Regions from separate parts of the Homo sapiens genome. Here regions 2, 3, 4, 5, 6 and 7 are each linked to region 1. Evidence: promoter capture Hi-C in 16 types of primary human blood cells and fetal thymus (Javierre and others, 2016). All regions are on one chromosome and are shown on one strand. Each heading gives the region's core, a stretch centred on a gene start or on the middle of the fragment in contact. The rest is flanking DNA. Distances are from core to core; before and after follow the strand shown.

What was found. The method cuts DNA at HindIII sites, captures the fragments that hold promoters and counts their contacts. A CHiCAGO score of 5 or more calls a contact.
Region 2: a contact is called between a fragment that was not itself captured here and the fragment with the promoter of H3C12 in region 1, in 1 of 17 cell types (fetal thymus). The highest score is 7.2, in fetal thymus.
Region 3: the fragment with the promoter of H1-6 here is called in contact with the fragment with the promoter of H3C12 in region 1 in 14 of 17 cell types (activated CD4 T cells, naive B cells, M0 macrophages and 11 more); the score reaches 15.1 in activated CD4 T cells.
Region 4: a contact is called between a fragment that was not itself captured here and the fragment with the promoter of H3C12 in region 1, in 6 of 17 cell types (fetal thymus, monocytes, non-activated CD4 T cells and 3 more). The highest score is 6.9, in fetal thymus.
Region 5: the fragment with the promoter of TRIM38 here is called in contact with the fragment with the promoter of H3C12 in region 1 in 5 of 17 cell types (non-activated CD4 T cells, activated CD4 T cells, monocytes and 2 more); the score reaches 13.2 in non-activated CD4 T cells.
Region 6: a fragment that was not itself captured here is called in contact with the fragment with the promoter of H3C12 in region 1 in 2 of 17 cell types (activated CD4 T cells and naive CD8 T cells); the score reaches 6.8 in activated CD4 T cells.
Region 7: the fragment with the promoter of H2BC3 here is called in contact with the fragment with the promoter of H3C12 in region 1 in 17 of 17 cell types (total B cells, naive CD4 T cells, total CD4 T cells and 14 more); the score reaches 41.0 in total B cells.

Annotation. Positions count from the first base shown.
Region 1 is chr6:27,889,031-27,892,356 of GRCh38, reverse strand. It overlaps H3C12 (H3 clustered histone 12), which reads left to right and starts at 1,531. Exons shown (of 1, transcript NM_003535.3): 1 at 1,531-2,042. The coding sequence starts at 1,565. The coding sequence ends at 1,975. RefSeq lists enhancers at 1,559-1,778, 1,295-1,939, 1,999-2,298, 1,940-2,584, 2,585-3,229 and 1 more. The HindIII fragment of the contact is 2,915 bases long and covers 1-2,015 here.
Region 2 is chr6:26,084,190-26,087,460 of GRCh38, reverse strand. It overlaps HFE (homeostatic iron regulator), which reads right to left and starts at 32. Exons shown (of 6, transcript NM_000410.4): 1 at 1-32. The coding sequence starts at 20. It also overlaps HFE-AS1. The HindIII fragment of the contact is 165 bases long and covers 1,168-1,332 here.
Region 3 is chr6:26,106,247-26,109,783 of GRCh38, reverse strand. It overlaps H1-6 (H1.6 linker histone, cluster member), which reads left to right and starts at 1,649. Exons shown (of 1, transcript NM_005323.4): 1 at 1,649-2,372. The coding sequence starts at 1,691. The coding sequence ends at 2,314. The HindIII fragment of the contact is 5,524 bases long and covers 1-2,022 here.
Region 4 is chr6:26,061,893-26,064,936 of GRCh38, reverse strand. No RefSeq gene overlaps it. Among named protein-coding and RNA genes, the nearest start is that of H1-2, 6.9 kb to the right of the region's middle. RefSeq lists a silencer at 171-310. The HindIII fragment of the contact is 576 bases long and covers 1,392-1,967 here.
Region 5 is chr6:25,960,825-25,964,051 of GRCh38, reverse strand. It overlaps TRIM38 (tripartite motif containing 38), which reads right to left and starts at 1,250. Exons shown (of 8, transcript NM_006355.5): 1 at 1,197-1,250; 2 at 770-1,003. The HindIII fragment of the contact is 6,907 bases long and covers 1-3,227 here.
Region 6 is chr6:26,006,999-26,010,102 of GRCh38, reverse strand. No RefSeq gene overlaps it. Among named protein-coding and RNA genes, the nearest start is that of H1-1, 9.2 kb to the left of the region's middle. The HindIII fragment of the contact is 1,116 bases long and covers 747-1,862 here.
Region 7 is chr6:26,042,337-26,045,771 of GRCh38, reverse strand. It overlaps H2BC3 (H2B clustered histone 3), which reads left to right and starts at 2,059. Exons shown (of 1, transcript NM_021062.3): 1 at 2,059-2,545. The coding sequence starts at 2,115. The coding sequence ends at 2,495. H3C3 (H3 clustered histone 3) reads right to left here and starts at 388. Exons shown (of 1, transcript NM_003531.3): 1 at 1-388. The coding sequence starts at 361. It also overlaps the pseudogene H2AC5P. RefSeq lists enhancers at 26-345, 1,576-1,815. The HindIII fragment of the contact is 16,277 bases long and covers 1-3,435 here.

The DNA.
Region 1 (3,326 bases), core at 282-2,781:
AAAAATGACTGGGCGCGGTGGCTCACGCCTGTAATCCCAGCACTTTGGGAGGCCGAGGAGGGTGTATCACAAGGTCAAGAGATCGAGACCACCCAGGCAAACATGGTGAAACCCTGTCCCTACTAAAAACACAAAAATTAGCCGGGCGTGGTGGCGAGCGCTACTAAGGAGACAGGCAGGAGAATCGCTTGAACCCAGGAGGCAGAGGTTGCAGTGAGCCGAGATCACGCCACTGCACTCCAGCCTGGGCGACAGAGCGAGACTCCATCTAAAAAAAAGAAAGAAAAAAAATACCAGGCGCGAGGCCCTCGCCTGTATTTGGCGGACTGACAGCAGAAGGAACACTTGAGTCCCAGGAATTTGAGATTTCAGTGAGCCATGACCTCGCCACTGCACTCCAGCCTGGGTGACAAAGCGAGACCCCGTCTCAAAAAAAGAAAAACAAAACCCAAACAAAAGTATTTCTGGTGATCATTTGCTCCTGTGAATATAATAAATGTTAAACTAACCTTTTTGTTGTCTTTATGGGTCTTTATCAATACCAGAACCTGGTAGTTCTTTGATCAACTAAAATCTCCATCCTAATAAAATGCTGTTGTCAGAACTACCCAGATTCACTGGCAAAAATCTAATCACTGACCCAAACCTGTAATTCCGCGCATGCTAATGAAATTAAGCAATAATTTACATAATTAATCCAATCAGCCATTGGATTGCATTAAACTCAGTTAATGAAGAGGTCAGATACCATTTATTGGTATCATTTAGTCAAGCACCTATCAAACTCCTTCCCCACACCACACTGGACAAAACTAAAGTTTTGGTGTTTTAGAGAATGTGCCAGCCTAAGTTTAAATTGTTTTTGTTCTGGGTCTTGGTACAGTCATTAAAAGATTTAATTAAGCAGTTACAAAACGGAACTACTTTTTGGAAATACTAGCAAATACGTTGTTCTACTGTATGTATTTTTACACGATCCGAAATAGGAAAAATGACCCATTGGAAATGAGTTTAAGACTACGACTGACCTACACAAATTCTAGGTCAGATTATCTTTTCATTGGGGGAATCTTAACATGATTGGTTGAAAACAATAAATAAAAGTGGCGCGGAGGACGAGCGCAGTGGCTCACGCCTGTAATCTAAGCACTTTGGAAGTCCGAGGCAGGCGGATAACTTGAGATCAGGAGTTTGAGACCAGCCTGGCCAACATGGTGAAACCCCTTCTCTGCTAAAAAAAAATTAGCCGGGCGTCGTGGCAAGTGCCTGTAGTCCCAGCTACTCCGGAGGCTGAGGCAGAATCGCTTGAACCCGGGAGGCGGAGGTTGCAGTGAGCTGAGATCGCGCCACCACACTCCAGCCTAGGCGACAGAATTAGAAGCCGTCAGGTAAAAAAAAAAAAAAAAAAAAAAAAGTGGCAGGAACCAAATGAAGATAGTATTAACAACCAACCAGGTTTTTCCTACAACAGTTCTGACCAATCAGGATCAGATCATCGTTATAAATTCTGGTAGAAGCCACTGCTCATTCAGCTGCTTGCTTTCAGAGCATAGCTTTCTCAACTATGGCCCGGACGAAGCAGACAGCTCGCAAGTCTACCGGCGGCAAGGCACCGCGGAAGCAGCTGGCCACCAAGGCAGCGCGCAAAAGCGCTCCAGCGACTGGCGGTGTGAAGAAGCCCCACCGCTACAGGCCAGGCACCGTGGCCTTGCGTGAGATCCGCCGTTATCAGAAGTCGACTGAGCTGCTCATCCGCAAACTGCCATTTCAGCGCCTGGTGCGAGAAATCGCGCAGGATTTCAAAACCGACCTTCGTTTCCAGAGCTCGGCGGTGATGGCGCTGCAAGAGGCGTGCGAGGCCTATCTGGTGGGTCTCTTTGAAGACACCAACCTCTGTGCTATTCACGCCAAGCGTGTCACTATTATGCCTAAGGACATCCAGCTTGCGCGTCGTATCCGTGGCGAGCGAGCATAATCCCCTGCTCTATCTTGGGTTTCTTAATTGCTTCCAAGCTTCCAAAGGCTCTTTTCAGAGCCACTTACATTCTCACTGAGGATAGCTGTCACACCATTGGTCGACTGTCTTAAATCAACTTTAAAGCAGGGATAAACTGGCGGAAAGTCGTCAAGGGTTGTTCATTCTGATTCCTTGCAGTGTCCTTTGTCTTCTAAGACGGTCCTTTTCACTTGTCCTCTGTGACCCATCTCACAAGGGTCTCACTTTCTCCGAGGAAAGTCAGCAAATCTATATCCAAGGTCAATCCGCTTCAAGGGGAAAGCCAAAGTCCTTCCTGCACATGCTGTCCTTTGGGGATAGCATCTCCAGAACCCCATAACTAACAATTAGATTACAGGTTAAATGAGATGCCATTTTTAACTGAAACGGGCACTGCCCTTGGGTCCCCTGGAAGCTTGCTGAAAATCACGGACATGAGGCCGGTTGATTTAGCACATAGACACGGGAGACTTCAAAATGAGGACCCACCCACCAATGAGATACAGAAGTTTATATATCACCTTGAGATTATAGAAAGAGTGCAAGCTTGGAACCTGGGAAAACAGATTATAGGAGGGAGAAAGGAAGAGACTTGGCTAGCAAGGGGGGCGGGTCTTGTTATGTAGATGAAAACACATAGCTAGTAGTCCTCAGAAAAAATAGATGGTAAATGTCTCTTGTCAGGGTGGGCGTGGTGGCTCATGCCCTCCACTTTGGGAGGCAGTGGAAGGAGGATTCCCTGAGCCCAGGAGTTTGAGATCAGCCTGGGTAACAGCAAAATCCTGTCTCTACGAAAAACAAATAAAAAGAAAGGTGGGTGTTGCAGCGCACAACTGTAGTTCTAGCTGCTCAGAAGGCTGAGGCAGGAAGATTGCCTGAGCCCACGAGTTCAAGGATGCAGTGAACTATGATTGCACAATTGCACTCCAGCCTGGGTGACAGAGCAAGACAGTCTCTTAAAAAATAAAAATAAAAAAGGATCAGACTCTCAGTTAATCTCTCCTAGATCCAGGAAAGGACTAGAAAGGGAAAGCCTGGCAACAAATGGAAATTTCCCCCACAAAAGACTGATTTGCAGGGCCTCATCGGTCTCCGGGCCCTGAGGCAGCCATTTCAAAATAGGGCAAAGAAATATCTTTTGGGGTAAAATATTTTTATTTCCTTCACTTTACTTTCCTCAAGAGACTGCTTTAAAGGTTAAATGCAGTAATATATTCTAGGGCCTTGGACAGTGCCCCAGAAAACACATTAGGTACACAAAAAATATTTATTGAACCTGATTTTATCTCTGAATCTTAGTTTGGAGTGGCTCTTGTGGGAGACTAAAATA
Region 2 (3,271 bases), core at 1-2,500, 1.8 Mb after region 1:
GGCCTGGCTCGCGGGCCCATTTCCCCAGCTCTGGCCGCACGTCCCCGTTAAATCTCCGCTTCTTTTGGGGGGCGGGGAAACGGGGATGGCTCCAGAAGTCACCCTACAGCTATTGCCTAGGCTCAGGAGATGCCCAGTAAAACTTCCTGGTGAAAAGCAACAGGTCTTTCAGAACTTTAGTTCTCTCTCTCCTACAGCAGAAGGTACCTGCTTGTGAAACACTAGGTGATCCAGTGTCCCCCTTGGTTTTTAAATCCTGAAGGGGTGTTGTTGATTGGGGAAAGTAGCTTCGCAATGTTCTGATCTGAACTTTAGATATTTAAATATTTATGATTTTCAAAATTCAATCATACATTTAAAAATTTTATCTCAACCTTAGACCAACTTATGTCTTATTTGACTTAGAAATATAAAGCTTTTTCATTTTGTTTTTTGATTCAAATTAATTAAGTCATAACATTAACCAATTAGATCCTACTGAAACACCTTCCACAGCCTTCATAATTGAATTATCTGACAAGTGTTTCACAAACTTTACAGTATTGGGATTATCTGGAGAATGATTAAACATATTGAGGCCTGCTCCTAACCCCAGACACACTGATTTAATGGGTAATTGTTAGGTAGTTAGACATTAGCAGTTGGGAGGGGATGACAGAAGAGAGCGGAAAGGCTGTCACTAAGACAGCCACTGGCCCACCTAAATTCAGGCCCAAGACTACCCTAATGCCACCCTAAGGGATGGAGTTTATGATAAAGTCTGTGGCCAAAATATCCTGGAGAAAGAGAAAGGAGGGTACAGGTGGAAATTCCCTAAGGTGGCACATGCCCAACAACACAAAAGCCTGTCTTCAAGTTCACCCCAAGTTCATCATGCCATCATTATAATAGAATTTACATACAGTTTTGCCCCCCCATCCCTGGGAGGCTTTTCTTAACAAATTATAGGTAAGACCATGCACAGTTTAATTTTAGATTGTATAGCTATACACTTCAATCAAATAACATCATCCTGTCACTCAGATACAGCCCAAACCTCAACTCCTCCCCACAAACCCCATAAAAGCACCTTGAGCTCTGTAAAGAAGTGCTGAGTTCACTTCGCAGAAATAAGCCCGCTGTCCCTCAGAGTGTATTATTGTGCTTCAATAAACTTTGCTTTAAGCTTGCATTTTGGTGTTAGTTTGTAGTTCTTTGCTCACTATCACAAGAACTGAGATTGCTGGTTCAGAGCTCCGGCTATAATAATCTCCTCGGTTAAAGGATCCATCCCAATGCATAATTCCCAGTAACAGTATGGGATGCCACCTGGGCAATGGGATTTTAAAAGCTTTCCTTCTCCCTCAACGAAGTTTGGGAATTATTGCCTTAGACATTTCAAACAATATTAATAAATTTAATACACCTGATTTGCTCCAAACCTTTACATATCTAGCAAATTCAACAGGCATTATTTTTGTAAGCATGTATGCAAATTTTGGCAATTCAAGAAAATCAAACAGGATATCAGGGCCTCGACTGTAGGCAAACAGATACAATAACATTGGAAACATGTAGAATATTGATGATGGGCACATTGGGGCTGATAGTACTATTCCTTTTTTTCAATTTTTGGTAAGATATAATTAGCATACCATATAATTCATCTATGTAAAATGCAAAAATTGGCCCGGCTCAGTGGCTCACGCTTGTAATCCCAGCACTTTGGGCGGCCGAGGAAGGCAGATCACCTGAGATCAGGGGTTCGAGACCAGCCTGGCCAACATGGTGAAACCCCGTCTTTACTAAAAATACAAAAATTAGCCGGGCGTGATAGCAGGCAACTGTAATCCCAGCTACATTAGAGGCTGAGGCAGGAGAATCGCTTGAACCCGGGAGGCGTAGGTTGCAGTGAGCTAAGATCGTGCCATCACACTCCAGCATGGGAGACAAGAGCAAGACTTCATCTCAAAAAAAAAAAATTAGCTGGGTGTGGTGGCATGCACCTGTAATTCCAGCTACTCGGGAAGCTGAGACAGGAGAATCGCTTGAACCTGGGAGGCGGAGGTTGTGGTGAGCCGAGATCATGCCATTGCACTCCAGCCTGGGCAACAAGAGCGAAACTCCGTCTCAAAAATAAAATAAATAAAATAAAATGCAAAAATTAATGGATTTTAGTATATTTACAGAGATGTGCAACCATTACCAAAATTTTACATTTCTATCTCCCCAAAAAGAAACCATGTTCCCCTAATTCAGTACCCTTAATTCATCGCCTCCCAGATTCCTCCATTCTCCTCCTCCTCCCCTCCCAGCCCTAGACAATCTTTAATCTACTTTCTTTCTATTTGGAACATTTAGTATACATAGAGGCATATAATATATTGCTTTGCCGTGACTGGCTTCTTTCATTTAGCATAATGTTTTTATGTATGTTTTTCATGGACCAATAATATCTATTATAAGGACATACCACAACATATTTTATTTATTCATTCATCAGCCGATGGACATTGGTTTGTTTCTACTTTATGGCTATTGGGAATAGTGCTGTTATAAACATTTATGTACAAGTTTTTTTGTAGACTTATGTTTTGATTTCTTTTGGTTATATATCTAGAAGTGGGTTTGCTGGGTCATATGGTAACACTGTTTAACCTTTTGAGGAATTGCCACATTCTTTTCCAAAGTAAGCATTTTATCCTCCTATCAGCAGTGTATGAGAGTTCTGATTTCTCTCCATCTTTGCCTGGGTTTTTGAATCAGGGCCCCAGATAGAACAAAAATGTGGTTATTCAGTTGTTCCACCATCACTTGTTGAGAAGACTCTTTTTTCATTGAAGTGTTTTGGCACCCTTATCAAAAATCAATCTACCATAAATGTGAGAGTTTATTTCTGGAGTCTCAATTTTATCCCATTATGCTATAATCTATAATCCTATCTTTTTTTTTTTTTGACAGAGCCTCACTCTATTGCCCAGGTTGGAGTGCAGTGGCCCAATCCCGGCCACTGGCTCCTCCTCCCAGGTTCAAGCAATTCTCCTGCCTCAGCCTCCCAAGCAGCTGGGATTACAGGTACCTGCCACCATGCCTGGTTAATTTTTGTATTTTTAGTAGAGACGGGGTTTCACCATGTTGGTCAGGCTGGTCTGGAACTCCTGACCTCAGGTGATCTGCCCACCTCAGCCTCCCAAAGTGCTGGGATTACAGGCATGAGCCACCACACCCAGACTATAATCCTATCTTTATGTCAGGACTACACTGTCTTGATTACTATAGCTTTTTAGTAAAT
Region 3 (3,537 bases), core at 400-2,899, 1.8 Mb after region 1:
GCAGATCACTTGAGGTGGGGAGTTCGAGACTAGCCTGGCCAACATGATGAAACCCCATCTCTACTAAAAATACAAAAAATTAGCCAGGCATGGTGGTGGGCGCCTATAATCCCAGCTAATTGGGAGGCTGAGGCAGGAGAATTGCCTGAACCTGGGAGGTGGAGGTTGCACTGAGCCAAGATCACACCATTGCACTCCAGCCTGGGCAACAAGAGCAAAACTCTGTCTCAAACCAAACCAAAACAAAACTTCTAATATCTACCAAATGTTTCACACAAGTATTTGGGGATCTTCACAAATGGCCCTTATGGAGTTTTCCTTTGCTGAGACCCTATGCTCTGGCCACACTAAACTCATTCAGCATCCCAGAAAGGCCTCAGCCTTTGTGAGCAAGCTCTTATCTCCAGGCCTCTCACAAAGACCTGTTCCAGTAGAAGCTCAGGGGAGCACACTGGACATTATTCCAACAACCCTTTCCCCACAGCTATGCAGCCAAATCTGCCAGCTCAGTTAATTAATTAAGCAATTCAGAGATGAGGGTCTGCCCAGGCTGGAGTGCAGTAGCTGCGACCTCAAGCTCCTGGGCTCTAAGTGATCCTCTTCAGTCTACCCAGAAGCTGGGACTGCAGGCATGTGCCACCACACCCAGCTAATTTTTTTTTTTTTCAGTAGGGACCAGGCCAACCTAGTCTTGAACTCCTGGCCTCCAGCCTTCCGAAGTGCTGTAATTACAGGCATGAATCACTGCGCCCAGCCAACCCGCCCAGTCTTGTTAGACATGGGGTCTGTAGTTTCTAGTAGGTTCTTGAGTCTAGGGTTCCTACCTCATGTTTTATAGTTAATTTAGGGGAGGGACTGTGTCTGTTTATCTGGGGATGTAGGGGTGGGCAGGGGGATAGAGGGGACTTCAATTAATGAAACCAGAAGCAAAACTCAGTTGAGGACACCGGTCATGAGAGTGGCCTGATTATGGCCAATCTTACATAATGTGTGAGATCTTGATATTACCCCATCCTTGAGAGTCCTCTATAAAGCTACAGGGACTTGGGAGCACCTTTAATTACAGACAACCCATGTTCCTGTGGATTATGATTTATTAGATTGCACATGCCTAAATAAAGACATCCTCTGCAGTCTTTTGACAATTCTATAAGCATCTTCTGACTCCGCAATTAGACAGCTAAGAGATCTGTGTTACTTCCCTCACATATATAAATAATTTTAAATAAAAATCATGGCGTGAATAATTTCTTTCCTCTACCGATTTGAAGCTATCCATTTGGAAGACCACTCTGAAGAGATGAAATAAGTCTTCTGCCAAAGATTACTTATTAATTTACAAGGAAAAGGGGAAGTTTTGTTCCTCTCCGTGAATTTGATTGAAAATCGAGGGCTTTCTCGAATAGTTTTGGCATCCAGGGTCATTTTTCATTAAAAAGAGAAAAGTCATGTCAAATATGAATTTCCGCAGATTATTCAGCACTAGACCCTGGGAGATTCTGTAAAGAGGGGTTTTGTTATACTCAACTTTTCCGGGTAAAACAAACACAAATACTCCTCCTCCAAGGGGCGGGGGCGGTGCCTAGGTGATGCACCAATCACAGCGCGCCCTACCCTATATAAGGCCCCGAGGCCGCCCGGGTGTTTCATGCTTTTCGCTGGTTATTACATCTTGCGTTTCTCTGTTGTTATGTCTGAAACCGTGCCTGCAGCTTCTGCCAGTGCTGGTGTAGCCGCTATGGAGAAACTTCCAACCAAGAAGCGAGGGAGGAAGCCGGCTGGCTTGATAAGTGCAAGTCGCAAAGTGCCGAACCTCTCTGTGTCCAAGTTGATCACCGAGGCCCTTTCAGTGTCACAGGAACGAGTAGGTATGTCTTTGGTTGCGCTCAAGAAGGCATTGGCCGCTGCTGGCTACGACGTAGAGAAGAATAACAGCCGCATCAAACTGTCCCTCAAGAGCTTAGTGAACAAGGGAATCCTGGTGCAAACCAGGGGTACTGGTGCTTCCGGTTCCTTTAAGCTTAGTAAGAAGGTGATTCCTAAATCTACCAGAAGCAAGGCTAAAAAGTCAGTTTCTGCCAAGACCAAGAAGCTGGTTTTATCCAGGGACTCCAAGTCACCAAAGACTGCTAAAACCAATAAGAGAGCCAAGAAGCCGAGAGCGACAACTCCTAAAACTGTTAGGAGCGGGAGAAAGGCTAAAGGAGCCAAGGGTAAGCAACAGCAGAAGAGCCCAGTGAAGGCAAGGGCTTCGAAGTCAAAATTGACCCAACATCATGAAGTTAATGTTAGAAAGGCCACATCTAAGAAGTAAAGAGCTTTCCGGGAGGCCAATTTGGAAAGAACCCAAAGGCTCTTTTAAGAGCCACCCACATTATTTTAAGATGGCGTAACACTGGAAACAAGTTTCTGTGACAGTTATCTATAGGTTTAAGTTGTGATGCAGCTGAGTTGAAAAGGCTTGAGATTGGAGAATTAATTCAGGCCAGGCTTCAAGACCATCCTGGGCAACATAGCCAGACTACCATCTATACCAGGGGTCCTCATTTCCCCGGCCACCGACCGGTAACCGGTCCCTGTCCATGGCACGTTATGAATTGAGCCGCACAGCTGAGGGGTGAGCGAACATTAACCAACTGAGCTCCACCGCCTGTCAGGTTAGCTGCAGCATTAGATAGATTCTCATAAGCTCAAACTGTATTGTGAATGGCACATGCAAGGGATCTAGGTTTCAGGCTCCTTGTGACAATCTAATGCCTGATGATCTGAGGTTGGAGCAGTTTTAGTCCGGAAATCATTGCTCCCAGCCCCTGCACCCCCTGGTCCGTGGTATAATTGTCTTACACAAAACGGTCTCTTGTGTCAAAAAGGTTGGAGACTACTGGTTTTACAAAAAAGTAAATTAGTCAAGCATGGTTGGCACGCTCCCTTAGTCCCTGCACCCAGGCGTTTAAGGATACAGTGAGCTATGATGGTGCTACCTCACTCCAGCCTGGGTGACAGCGAGTCAGACGTTGTCTCAAAACTTAAAAAAAAAAAAAGTTAAAACAGAAAAAGGGCTTCTTGTCAGAGACTGCCGTATATCTAGAGGTCCAGGAACTAAAAAGTCTGATGTCCAATCCTGAAAAGCTCGATGGTGCACTAGAGGAGGCTTTTACATGTAAGAGCATCTAAGTTCTGGAAATGCCAGTGTCAGGGAAGGGAAGTGGAGAGCAATTTGGCATCCAAACATAACTTGCTGATACTTTTTTTTTTTTTAACACAAGTACTACATTCTAGTCTTTCTGTGGTGTCATTGTAACTATTGTTTCTTAATATGCTATCCACTGACTTCAAGGGATCAATAAATAGGAATCAAGGTGTCCCAGAATATGGATTAGGGGAGTTTTTTTGTTGTTGTTGTTGTTGTTGTTTTTCATCTATTCATTATCCTGTAGCTGAAATTTAGAATTTTCTTCCATTGTGTGTGACTGATAGAAATAACAAATTTGTAGGTTATAGTTGTTGCAAGAATCTGGAAATCGTGCTTGCTTATTT
Region 4 (3,044 bases), core at 430-2,929, 1.8 Mb after region 1:
CGGGCAGATCACCTGAGGTCAGGAATTCGATACCAGGCTGGCTAACATGGCGACCCCGTCTCTATCAAAAATGTAAAAGTTAGCCAGGTGTGGTGGCTCGCACCTGTGGCCCCAGCTACTCAGGAGGCTGAGGCAGGAGGATCGTTTGAGCCCTGGAGGTTGAGGCTGCAGAAAAATAGGAATATACTCTCTTTCAAGAGTTCGTGGTTTTGACTGCCACCTAGCGTACATCAGAAAAACCGCATGACATAGGAAATGCCTGTGACAGAGGGGTAAGGTGAGAGAGGTTGATGAAGAATGTATTGAAGGAGTGAAAACGCTTCCATCCCTCTACTTACTAAATATATTAGTTAAGTAGTTGGGGCATATTTTAATTCATGCATTTTGTAGATAGAAAAACAAAAGTTTTATTCTGTTTGATTTAGTTGATACTTTAATATGTGTGTGTTTAGGATGCATGATTTATAATCAGTCTGCAGCACTTCTTGGAGAAGTCTGAATTCTCATTCTCCATTTCCTTATTGGCAACGTGAGAATGATTACAATGGTGGTTGTCTCATAGAATGCAGGGAGTCAGAATGAAAATAGTCCATATAATGCCTGGTGCAGAGGAAGGGTTCAGTTAACTGTCTGTATTAATATTACTGATAACAGTCATGACAAACAAAAGCTTAACAACAACACCACCAACAACAGTTGCAGAATTGAGCCACCAATTTGCACACAAGATTGTAGGTAGGATGTTTTAGAAAAGTTATTATTTAATATATGTATATATTTTTGTACTTAAAATATGTCAGAGGTTGTTCTAAGAACTATTTAAATGTTAACTCCTTAATCCTCATAATGACCCATGAAACAGGTAGGCTTATTATTGTCTCTTTACATGTGAGAACACTGAGACACGAAAAGGTTTATTAACTCACCCAAAGTCACACAGCTGGTAAAACGGCAAAATTGAATTTGAACTCAGACATTCCAGGTTCCAAGACAGTCTAATTATTCTTTTGACTAATATACTAAGCTGCCTCTGTATTTTTCCTTGATTACTTTGTAAAAGTATGAGGAAAATATAAGTGCTTCAAGTAACCATGAAAAATATAAACAATCTATGTATCAACTGAAGCATAATTACAAATCCTTTGATAAGCAAACATAATAAAAATTTGATATCAATCAAAACTTTCATGTAATGTAAGCAGGTTGAGATGAATTCTATAGTAAAAAAGTGCAGAGTGCTGGAATACCATGCTCCTAATATATTGGCTAGGCACACCTGCCTGCTATCAAAGGTATGCACACACCTTGGATACAGAAAGTTGGGACTGGGTAGTTATGTGAGTGTCATCAGAATTCTTTCCCACTTGGGAAAGAATTGTCCATCATAAGCTTGGATGATGGACAAGGAGTGAGCTCCCAGAACAGTGATGTGGGGATACATCCTCACATCACAGTGAGAATGAGTGTTCTAGACTGTTTACACACCTACCACTCCTAAATGCACACATATAATTGCTTGCACACACACACATACACACTCATCTCTTCTCTGGTGGTCCAGCTCTATCTCTTATCATTAGGCTTCTTGGGGCTAGTACCTAGGGCCTGTATCCTTTCAGAGGCAGCTAAGGGAAGCACACATAATTAGAAAGAATGAACCAGCTTGTTGGATTTGGTCTCTTCGCATCCAGCCCTCCAAGTTAAGGAGAGTACCATCTTTCTTAGGGTCACCAAAGGAAAAAAAAAAAAAAGAAAGAAACAGAAGGATATCATACAGCAAGGATCTAATGCAAATATGCCTCAAATGAGAGGCTACTGTGTGCTGATCCCAATCCCAGGAACTGTATGCACATTATCTAATTTAATCCTCACTGTATTTCTGGGAGTATTATTCCCATTTTACAGAGAAGGAACTTGGCAGGGTAACCAAGCTCATGAATGGAGAAACTGGGATTAAATATAAAGCTTCCTTGCTCCAGAACTGCTGTCTTTCTGCTCTTCCACACTACCAGCTCAGCTGTGCTCTCTACATGCAGGCAGTTTTACAAGTTTCAGATTAGCCTGGGACTTCCAGGGTTTTGAATGGGTTAGGGAATGGGGAACTTTTGGGTTTACTTTCCATTTTTTCTTCATACATATGTAATATATAACATAAATCTATGGTATATATGATAAATATATGGCTACATATGAACTATATAATCACATATATGCATTATAAATAAATATTAATTTTATAATATTTTAAAGGTTATCAAATAAATATTAATATAAATAATTAAATAATTAATACTCAGCTTTGTTTTCCAAAGTGATAAATGCCTATATTTAGCAAAATATTTTTTGGAGGCCTGATAGTTTTTAGGAGTGTAAAGAAGTCCTGATATCTAAATGTTTAAGAACCACTATTTTAGGCTGTTGTCTTCTGTCTTATTTTCCCAGCTAGACTGGTAAATACTTGAAGGCAAACGTTTAGCCAGCACATTAACATTTTATGTTTTTATTCTTTTGTGCTCTCAGTGGCTGTGTCTTTTCTATCGATTTCTCACACTGTATGATGGTTATATTTGTCTGTATCTGTCCCACCAGGTATAAGTTCTTGAGAGGACACACTGCTAGGCTGATCTTAGTTTTTATTATTTCTCCTGGTGTCCTGTGCTTAACAAGTGCTCATTAAGTGTGTAAAAACACAGCACAGTAAAAAACTAGACATTAAAAAATAATGTCAACCAATCTATTGAAATTTGCATTTCCATGTTTCTTCCAATATAGTCATTGTGTCAGGTTATGTACTTATTCTGATGAAGACTATTGCCTAATATACGTTTGCATCTTGTGCTTTATAACTGCCTTCATATAGACACAGATTGAGAAGGTGTAAAAATGTGCATATCCTCACAATTGACAAATTCTTATCCTTTGAGGGTAGGTTTGACTTTCTGAAATGCTTTGACATCATTTGAAAGAAGCTTGAAGAATAAGATAGCTGTTAATGACCCAGTTTCCTATGTCACTTATACAATTATAATGGCAATTTCAAAATG
Region 5 (3,227 bases), core at 1-2,500, 1.9 Mb after region 1:
TGTTCCCTTGGCTCCTACACCATCATGACAATAAAATTTGACTCCACCTCGACCCCCCCCATCCCCCACAAAGAACAACAACCAACACTGGTTAATAAGGTCGGTTGTTTTTTGTTTGTGTTTTTGTTGTTGTTGTTTTTGCTTTCAGGAGCAGAGGTATAATAGGCAAAAGAAAGAGAAAGGAGAATAGTGAATACCTCTTCTGCAGAGAGGGGTGCCTAAGTGGGACTTCCCTGGCTAATAACGTCTTGCTAGAGACCCAACCAGGAGGATAATGGAAGCAATCAAGGCAACCAGAACAACCAGAAGAACCGGTTTATCCTTTTTGTGCCCTCTCCCTAAACTGAGGGAATAAGAATTGGAAAGAAGGCTGCAGAGCAGAGGGTTTGCTCCTGAGGAGCAGTTATTTCTATGGGATCAGAGCTCCTGCAGAACTGGGGAGTTTACTTTTACTATCTCTTCTCCAGGACAGGACCTATCTCAAGAGACATGTTCAGAGTGATTGCAACATAAAGAGTTTGCAGACCCAAGGAGGTAGGGAAGGCAGAAAGAAGATGGGGGAGGCCAGGGATAGGCAACAGAGGAGTGACCAGGAGCGAAAAAGCCTGCCTCTTCTGAGAACCTAGCTGGGCTCTCCCTGTACCCCCGATCCCTCCCCCCCGCCCGCCCCCACACCCCTACTCCTGGGAGCTCCTCTAGGACAGGGGCAGAGTCAGGAGGAAGTTTGAAGAGTGCCTAGAATAAAAAACAGTAATTTAACTACAATTACCGGGTAGGCTGTTTTCCTCTCACAATTTGATCAGTCTCTTGAAGCCACACAGAATTTCTTCTGAAGACGTGTATTCCTTGGCAGGCTATTTCCTCCAGTGATACACCAGGCCCCTCTCTGCTGGGGTCACTGCTCTTCTGGGGAGATGGGGCTCCCCTCCTTCCAAGGCTCCAGGGTTCCTGTCCTGGGCCCCACTCATCTAAGTTCTGAATCTTCTGAGATTTGGTGTAAAGTCTGGTGAAAGAAAGAGCAGGAAAGAGGTGAGAGCTGTAAAACAAAGAAAGTCCTGACCATTTTCAGAGTTGGAGGGGCCCTGCTGTCACGAAATATATTCCCCACCCCACTTGCCATCAGTACACACTCACATATCCACTGAGAAAACCTTAGCCTGGACCTTTTCCGTAACCTTCACTGCTCAGACACTTACATATTCGCTGCTAGTCCCCTCTGTTGCTGCCACTTCCTGGGTCAGGAAGTTAACTCAGACCGGATTAAACTGAGAAGTGAAACTACTGTGGGAGGCGGGGCTCATAAGATTTAGGAGAAAACTAGTGACGTTGTTCATATCATTTGCACTCCGCCTCTCCGGTAAAGGAGGGGGAAACGTAGGAAGAAAATATCCTTCTTTTACAGCAATAAAAAGAAGGAACCAATTAATAACCCTGTAAACTATCATGTGACCCCAACACAGAGTATCTAAAAACAGGAAGCCTGCAGAGGTTCAGTTCACAGACTCTGATTTGAGATCTTTCTACTTTTGCCACCAACTCCCTTGGGAGTCCTTAAGCCTTCCTAGCTGATGTTACTTCTTTTGCTATTTATGGGTTGCTTGTGGTTCTATAACTGCTCTGAAGGGTGTGGTGGAAAAAGGGGTGGTAACAGCAGTAGGACTCATTGGCATCACAAAATTCATCTGAGTCAGCTTTCTATTCTTCTCTGTCCCGTTCTGTGTCTTGTTTTTCTCCTTGCTGTCCTTCTGCAGGACTCAGATCTTCTTCAATAGCGAGGGTCAGCCAGGATAGAAAATGGGAGTCACTAGTGGCCCAGCAGTGAGTGCCCCCAGCTTAGAGCTGTGTGGGATCCCTGGGACCATCACTCTGCTTTGTGCTTTGTGGAGAAAAGGCTGTGGGGTCCAGGGTCAAGTCCTTAATGACTTAGCTCCAGCTTCTCCACTTCAAAATGAAAGGAAAAGTACTATCACCACCCGTTAGAATTATTATTTCATGGGGAAAAAAGATGGATTACTATCTCACAATAAGAGCTTGTCACATTTATAAGTCTCAGGTGTAAGAGGCATTTATGATAACAACATAATAAATGCTGGCTTAAGTAGATGCAGTGGTCCAAGGGAACCAGTAAGGGGAGCTCAGGACACAGGTGGGAGGAGAAATTAAACTTGAATTCTGGGAGCCACTGGCCTGTCTGGGCCCCTGGCCTGCCTGCTGACCCTGATAGCCAATGGAACATGGAGTTTGGCCCAGCTGCAATCCCTCTGGTCCAACTACTCAAAATAAAGGCAAGATTGGGAAACACGTTCCTTTCTTCCTATACCAAGCAGAAGACTCTTCAGCACTGCACCCTCCTGGGTGCTCACAGAGCCTTCTGTTGTTTTGCCACCTACGATTCATCATGCCCTGGCATGATGGTTGCAGACCCCATGCATAGCATGGGACATTCTACTCCTGAGGCAACCAGCACACAGAGAGAGGAGAAAGAATGAGCCCCTGAATCCTTGGTCCCACGATGAGTCCTTGCAGATATCTACAACTTTCATTGTTGTGGATGTGACTCTGTACCCAGGCATGGCTCATTCCAGATCTGTCCTATTGTCAGAGGTGTTCAAACCAGAATGACTCCATTTTGAATGGGGGCTAGGTAAAATAAGGCTGAGACCTACTGGGCTGCATTCCCAGGAAGTTAGGCATTGTAAGTCACAGGATGAAATAGGCAGTTGGCACAAGACACAGGTCATAAAGATCTTGCTGATAAAACAGGTTGCAGTAAAGAAGCTGACCAAAACCCACCAAAATCAAGATGGCAACAAGAGTGGCCTCTAGTCATTCTCATTGCTCATTATACACGAATTATAATGTGTTAGCAAGTTAGAAGGCATTCCCACCAGCTCCATAGTGGTTTATAAATACCATGGCGATGTCAGGAAGCTACCCTATATAGTCTAAAAAGGGGAGGAACGCTTGGTTCTGGGAATTGCCCACATCTTTCCCAGAAAACATATGAATAATCCACTCCTTGTTTAGTACATAATCAAGAAATAACTGTAAGTATCTGTATTAGTCCATTTTCACACTGCTGATCCAGACATACCTGAGACTGAGTAATTTATACCAGGAAAAAATGTTTCATGCTCTTACAGTCCCACGTGTCTGGGGAGACCTCACAACCACAGCAGAAGGCAAGGAGGAGCAAGTCAGGTCTTACATGGATGGCAGCAGGCAAA
Region 6 (3,104 bases), core at 55-2,554, 1.9 Mb after region 1:
GAAATTTACCGTTTATTATTTTTGGACTGCAGTAGACCACAGGAACTAAAACCATGTAGAAACCGTATACAAGAGAACTGTATTTCACCCGAGCCTCAGTGTGCAGTTTTAATGGCCTGCCATGGTTGACTGCTCACATGGCCGATCTTTTAGTCTACCTCCACAGGTAGAGCTGATACTGTGTGGCTCAAAGTTCCTATTATAAATCACATTGTTGACTGTGTGGTGGTCAAAACCTCCAGGTAAACAAAGACACACTTATCAGTGAGAACATTTCAAGGGTCTAAAATTCATCTCCCAGTAGCTGAGGGCAAAGGCTAGACCTCTTTTTGGGTAAGATAAATTTTTTACCATATACTTTATTTTGCTTTTCATGTTTAACTTTATTTTGCTTTTCATGTTAGTTCCCCTGGAATTGTTTTTTGTGTATAGTGTGAAGTAGGGGGTCAAGTTTCTTTTTTTTTCCTTTTTGTTCTTTTTCTGTTTAAAAGGCTATACAATTGTCCCATGCCATTTATTTACAAGAGTCCTTTCACCATTGTTGTATGGTGCCACTTTAGATGTAAATCAATGTCCATATTTGTTTGAGCCTGTTCCATTCGTTTGTCTATTTTTGGACAACACTGCCCTGATTATTGTCATTTTATCAGTTTTGATATTTAATAAAGCAACAGATTTGTTTATTTTGGGCCCTTGGATTTGTGTATTAAATTTGAACCCTGTTTGTCAATTTCTATAATAAAGCTTATTGGGAATCTGATTAGGATTACAATGGTTTTGTAGATCAGTTTGGGGACAATTAATACCTTTAAAATATTGACCGCTTCAACTGTAAATATACTCCTCCATTATTTAGTTTTCCTGTTTAATTTATCTGAGTAATACATTATAGTTTTCTTCGTAGAAGTCAGATACGTAGAAAATTCAAAGCCCAAGTGCAATAGCTCATGTCTGTAATACCAGCACTTTGGGAGGCCGATGTGGGTGGATCACCTGAGGTCAGGAGTTTGAGACCAGACTGGCCAACATGGTGAAACCTCATCTCTAGTAAAAATACAAAAATTAGCTGGGTGTGGTGGCGGGCACCTGTAATCCCAGCTAATCAGGAGACTGAGGCAGGAGAATCGCTTGAACCCAGGAGGCAGAGGTTGCAGTGAGCCAAGTTCCTGTCACTGCACCCCACCCTGGGCGACAGAGCGAGACTTCGTCTCAAAAAAACAAAAAAAAGAACATTCAAATAATCAATGTAGATAATTCAAATAACTAAAAAATGAACAGTTATTAAAATATCAGGATATAAAAGCAAAAAAATCAATAACCTCCATATATACAAAATGGCCAGTTAGAGAAAAAAAAAAGAATAGGCGAGACTTAAAAAGGCTGGGAATCTCCCTGAAAATCTTTGAGAGCCTTGGCCCTGCCCTCAGGGATTTCTCTGGCTTCATGCCCAGATACGGGTACAGTTCCTTGTTTAAAAAAATTTTGCTCCATCAATCAACAAGGGGCTCCTTCCTCAGAGCACAAGGACCTCCATAACACCGGACACTAGATGTCTAAGGGACACCTCTTAAGGAAGTTAGACTTCCAAAGAATGGTGTTTCCTCTGTCCCCAAACTCTGGAACTCACAGCACAACTGCTCCTTGGAGTTCGGTTTCAAATCTACAAGGCTGTCATGGAGGTTGCAGACCAAGTCCGTGGCCTCAGTGTCCGGATGTACGGTGGCCTTGGCACCTGAATGTGAGAACATGACCTCCCTGAAACCACCACAAGTATTGTTTCATGTTATGTATGTTTTTTCTTATCTGAAATTCCTTTTCTTTAAAAATTCAAATTACATATTTTGCAAGCCCCTGAACAAGCTTCATGAGCATTTATTGAACCCACAGCTTTTAAAACCTACTGAACACTTTGCTCTATGTTGTCATTCACTATCCACCAATTATTTAATTATTGATCAATATTGTTTCCTTAGTGTTGGGATCATTTATGCATGTATTTCTTTTATATTGCATATTTTATATTTCTGCATTACAGTTATTACATATTACTTTTGCTACAGTAATAGTTCAAAAGTGTACATCCAAAATTTAGCTGTGAAGTGGATGGACTGAGGCAGAACTGGAGGCAAGAAAATGTCACAGTAATTCTAAAAAAGATGATGTACAATTAGAGCAAGAGAGTAGCACTGAAATTGAAGAAAAATAGATGCGTTTGAGAGAAAATTAGGAGGTAGAATCAACAGATTAGATGTAGGGATGAGAAGGGTCAAAGATGACACTAGGGTTTTTAACTGGAGCAAGTAGGTAGACAGAACATTTCTTCCTGAAAGGGCAGGTCAGATCATGTGTTGTCTCAAAGGGCATGAAGAGTAGAAAGCCTGGGACAGATCCTGAGATGACCAATACCCATGGTGCAGGGAGAGGGAGGGAGATCTGCTAAAAAGACTGCAAATGTCAGGATAGTAGAAAATCATGAGTGTGTGATGTCCTGGAAGTTGAGACAGTATCACATTTGAGAACATTTAAATTGGTAACTCTGACAAAAAGCTGGAGGCCAACTGTGAATGCCCATGAGAGTGAGAAGCTCCCACACTTTTGTGGGCATCAGAAAGCCCACCAGGTTCCTGCAGTGAAGATCTGAGAAGGATCCTCTTGTGGCTTTGGCAGGGAGAGAAGAATTATTATGAAATACACCCCAGAACCTTCTTCAAAACAAAGGCCTACTCTCAAGGGGAAAACATTTTGCCAGAGTCTTATCCCAGCTGGGAGAAGGTAATTCTTCCCACTGCAGCCTCATCTAGGCTTTCTGTCTCACTTAAGGGAAGAAAATTAGTCAACAGGGATCAGAGCTTCATGAAAATAAATTGGAAATGGTGCAGCCAGGAAAGGAGCAAAGGTCTGAGGAGGAGGAGAAGGAGGAAGAGGAGTTGTATCATTATAAATACTTGAGGAAGAGGAGGAGAAGGAGGAGGAGGAGGAGTTGTATCATTATAAACACTTGAGGAAGAGGAGGAGGAGAAGGAGGAGGAGGAGTTGTATCATTATAAACACTTGAGGAAGAGGAGGAGGAGAAGGAGGAGGAGGAGGAGTTGTATCATTATAAA
Region 7 (3,435 bases), core at 810-3,309, 1.8 Mb after region 1:
TGATGGTGACGCGTTTAGCGTGAATAGCGCACAGATTGGTGTCTTCGAAGAGTCCCACCAGGTAGGCCTCACAAGCCTCCTGCAGCGCCATCACCGCAGAGCTCTGGAAACGCAGGTCGGTTTTGAAGTCCTGGGCGATTTCTCGCACCAGGCGCTGGAACGGCAGCTTCCGGATCAGCAGCTCGGTGGACTTCTGGTAGCGACGGATTTCGCGCAAGGCCACGGTGCCCGGGCGGTAGCGATGAGGTTTCTTCACGCCACCGGTGGCCGGAGCGCTCTTACGGGCTGCTTTAGTAGCAAGCTGCTTGCGCGGAGCTTTGCCGCCGGTAGACTTGCGAGCTGTTTGCTTCGTACGAGCCATTTGCAATGAGAGCACACACAAAAGTGTAGTGAACTGAGAGCAAGTGGCCTTTAAATATAGTGAGAAACATTCTGATTGGTCCTGTAATATTTCAAAAGTCCCGCGCGATAAAATCATTGGCTGAAGAGTGACCAGACTGATTGGTTCATTACTAGACAATCTTATTGGATGAGTTGCCCCACCGCCCATCCTGTCCTTTTCGTTTCAGTTATCTGCAGCGACAAATTGTCTAAAATTCTAGTTCATCCAGTCCCAAAGAACAGAGTGTATAACAAGGTATCTAAGGATTTTTAAAATGTAAATTCCGATTCAGTAAGTTTGAGTGGGACTTGAAATTCTGCATTCCTGACAGTCTCGCAAGTTATCAATGCTGGTGAACACTCACTAAACCACCAGAAACGTTCAGACTCATGTCGGGAAATAACGCTTATATTCAGAGAATGAGATTCCATGCTATTTTGTTACTGGCGAACAGCAAGTTTCCTTGCCCTTTGTTTTCTAAGTCCAAGTCACATTCCCACCCTGCCTGTTCTCAAAATGTCTTATTTTGGTTGGCCTTAAGTTTCACTTTGTATACTCTAAAATGTACTTTCTAAAGGAAGGTGTTATTTTCTCGAAACTTAACTTTTTAACACCATTAGGCTAGGGGGGCGGTGGCTCACGCCTGTAATCCCAGCATTTTGGGAGGGCGAGATGGGACGATCACTAGAGGCCAGGAGTTCAAGACAACCCTGGCTAAAATGGTGAAACCCCGTCTCGCATAAAAATACAAAAACTAGCTGGGCGCGGTAGCAGACGCCTGTAATCCCAAGTACACAGGAGGCTGAGGCATGAGAACCGCGTGAAGCGGCGGGGTGGAGGTTGCAGTAAGCCGATATCGCGCCGCTGCACTCCAGCCTGGGTGACAGAACTAGACTGTCTCAAAACAAACCAATCCAAACGAAAAGCAAAAAATACCCTAACAGAAGCAAGTTATCATCCTTTCTTGTGTAACTATGGACGGCTCTGAAAAATGCCGTTTCAAGTGTAAGCTACGTTTTCTGATTTGAGTGTTTACTTGACCTTGGCCTTATCGTGGCTCTGTTATTTTGGCAACAGGACGGCCTGAATATTGGACAGGACGCCTCCCTGAGCAATAGTGACGTTGCCCAGCTGCTTGTTGACCTCCTCGTCGTTTCGGATGGCCAGCTGCAGGTGGCGGGGGATGATGCTGCGGGTCTTGTCACGTATGGCGCTGCCCACCAGTTCTAAGATCTCGGCGGCCAGGTATTGTAAGTACACTGGCGCACCGGCTCCGACCGGCTCAAAATAATTGCCCTTTCGAAAAAGATGACGGACTCTGCCCTATTGGGAACTGCAAGCCCGGTAGCGACGAACAAGTTTTTGCTTTAGCTCCATTTTCCACGTCCGCAAATAGCGACCTATGAAAGCAGCGGAAAACTGTGAAAGACAAGCAAGCTGGAATGGCGCCTGAACAAATCCTTTTATACAAACTGCAAGGCTGCAATAGGAAGCTATCCTATTGGTCAATTATGTTTGGTGCTTTATCCAATAGAAAAAGATAACATAAATTCCATATTTGCATAAACCCCACCCCTCAGTGAAACCGTGTTTCTTTTGTCCAATCAGAAGTGAGGAATCTTAAACCGTCATTTGAATCTCAGGACTATAAATACATGGGCTCTGAACTGTTCTCTGTACTACTCTGTAGTGGAGAGTGTTAGTAGCTTTTCTATTCTGTTTAGGAATAGCAATGCCTGAACCCTCTAAGTCTGCTCCAGCCCCTAAAAAGGGTTCTAAGAAGGCTATCACTAAGGCGCAGAAGAAGGATGGTAAGAAGCGTAAGCGCAGCCGCAAGGAGAGCTATTCTATCTATGTGTACAAGGTTCTGAAGCAGGTCCACCCCGACACCGGCATCTCATCCAAGGCCATGGGGATCATGAATTCCTTCGTCAACGACATCTTCGAGCGCATCGCGGGCGAGGCTTCTCGCCTGGCTCACTACAATAAGCGCTCGACCATCACCTCCAGGGAGATTCAGACGGCTGTGCGCCTGCTGCTGCCTGGGGAGCTGGCTAAGCATGCTGTGTCCGAGGGCACTAAGGCAGTTACCAAGTACACTAGCTCTAAATAAGTGCTTATGTAAGCACTTCCAAACCCAAAGGCTCTTTTCAGAGCCACCTACTTTGTCACAAGGAGAGCTATAACCACAATTTCTTAAGGTGGTGCTGCTGCTATTCTGTTTCAGTTCTAGAGGATCAACTGGAATGTTAGCGAAGACAAGTTTTAGAGCCAAGGTTAACTTGGACGGGGCCGTGCGCGGTGCCTCTTGCCTTTAATCCCGGCAATTTGGGAGGCCGAGGCGGGCGGATCACGAGGTCAGGAGATGGAGACCATCCTGCTTAACACGATGAAACCCCGTCTCTACTAAAAATACAAAATAATTAGCTGGGCGTGATGGTGGGCGCCTGTAGTCCCAGCTACTCGGGAGGCTGAGGCAGGAGAATGGCGTGAACGCGGGAGGCGGAGCTTGCAGTGAGCCGAGATCGCGCCATGGCACTCCAGCCTGGGTGACAGAGCGAGACTCCGTCTCAAAAAAAAAAAAAAAAAAAAATTAAAAAAATATGAAGTTTTGAAGCAGAAATTATTTTGTCGTATGTTCTTTCATAAATTTTTTGCCTGCCTGCCTTCTTCCTTTGTTACAGAACTCCAACACTTACCCAAAGGTAGCTGTTGGGTCAGGGTTTCTGTACTATAGTCCCTTCTGTGGTGGCCAGAAATATGTTACAGGAAAGAGGTCCCCATCCAGACCCCAAGAGAGGGTTCTTGGATCCCGCGCAAGAAAGAGTTCAGGGTGAGTCCGCAGTGCAAAGTAAATGCAAGTTTACTAAGAAAGTAAAGTGGTGAAACGACAACTACTCCATAGACGGAGCAGGACATTCCCGAAAGTAAGAGGAGGAAGGCATCCACCCTAGGTACAATACTTGTATATATGGGGAGATGTGCTCTGCTACAAGTTTGTGATAAAGGATTAATTTTCTTAGTTACTATATTTTGCAAGAATCAACATTATT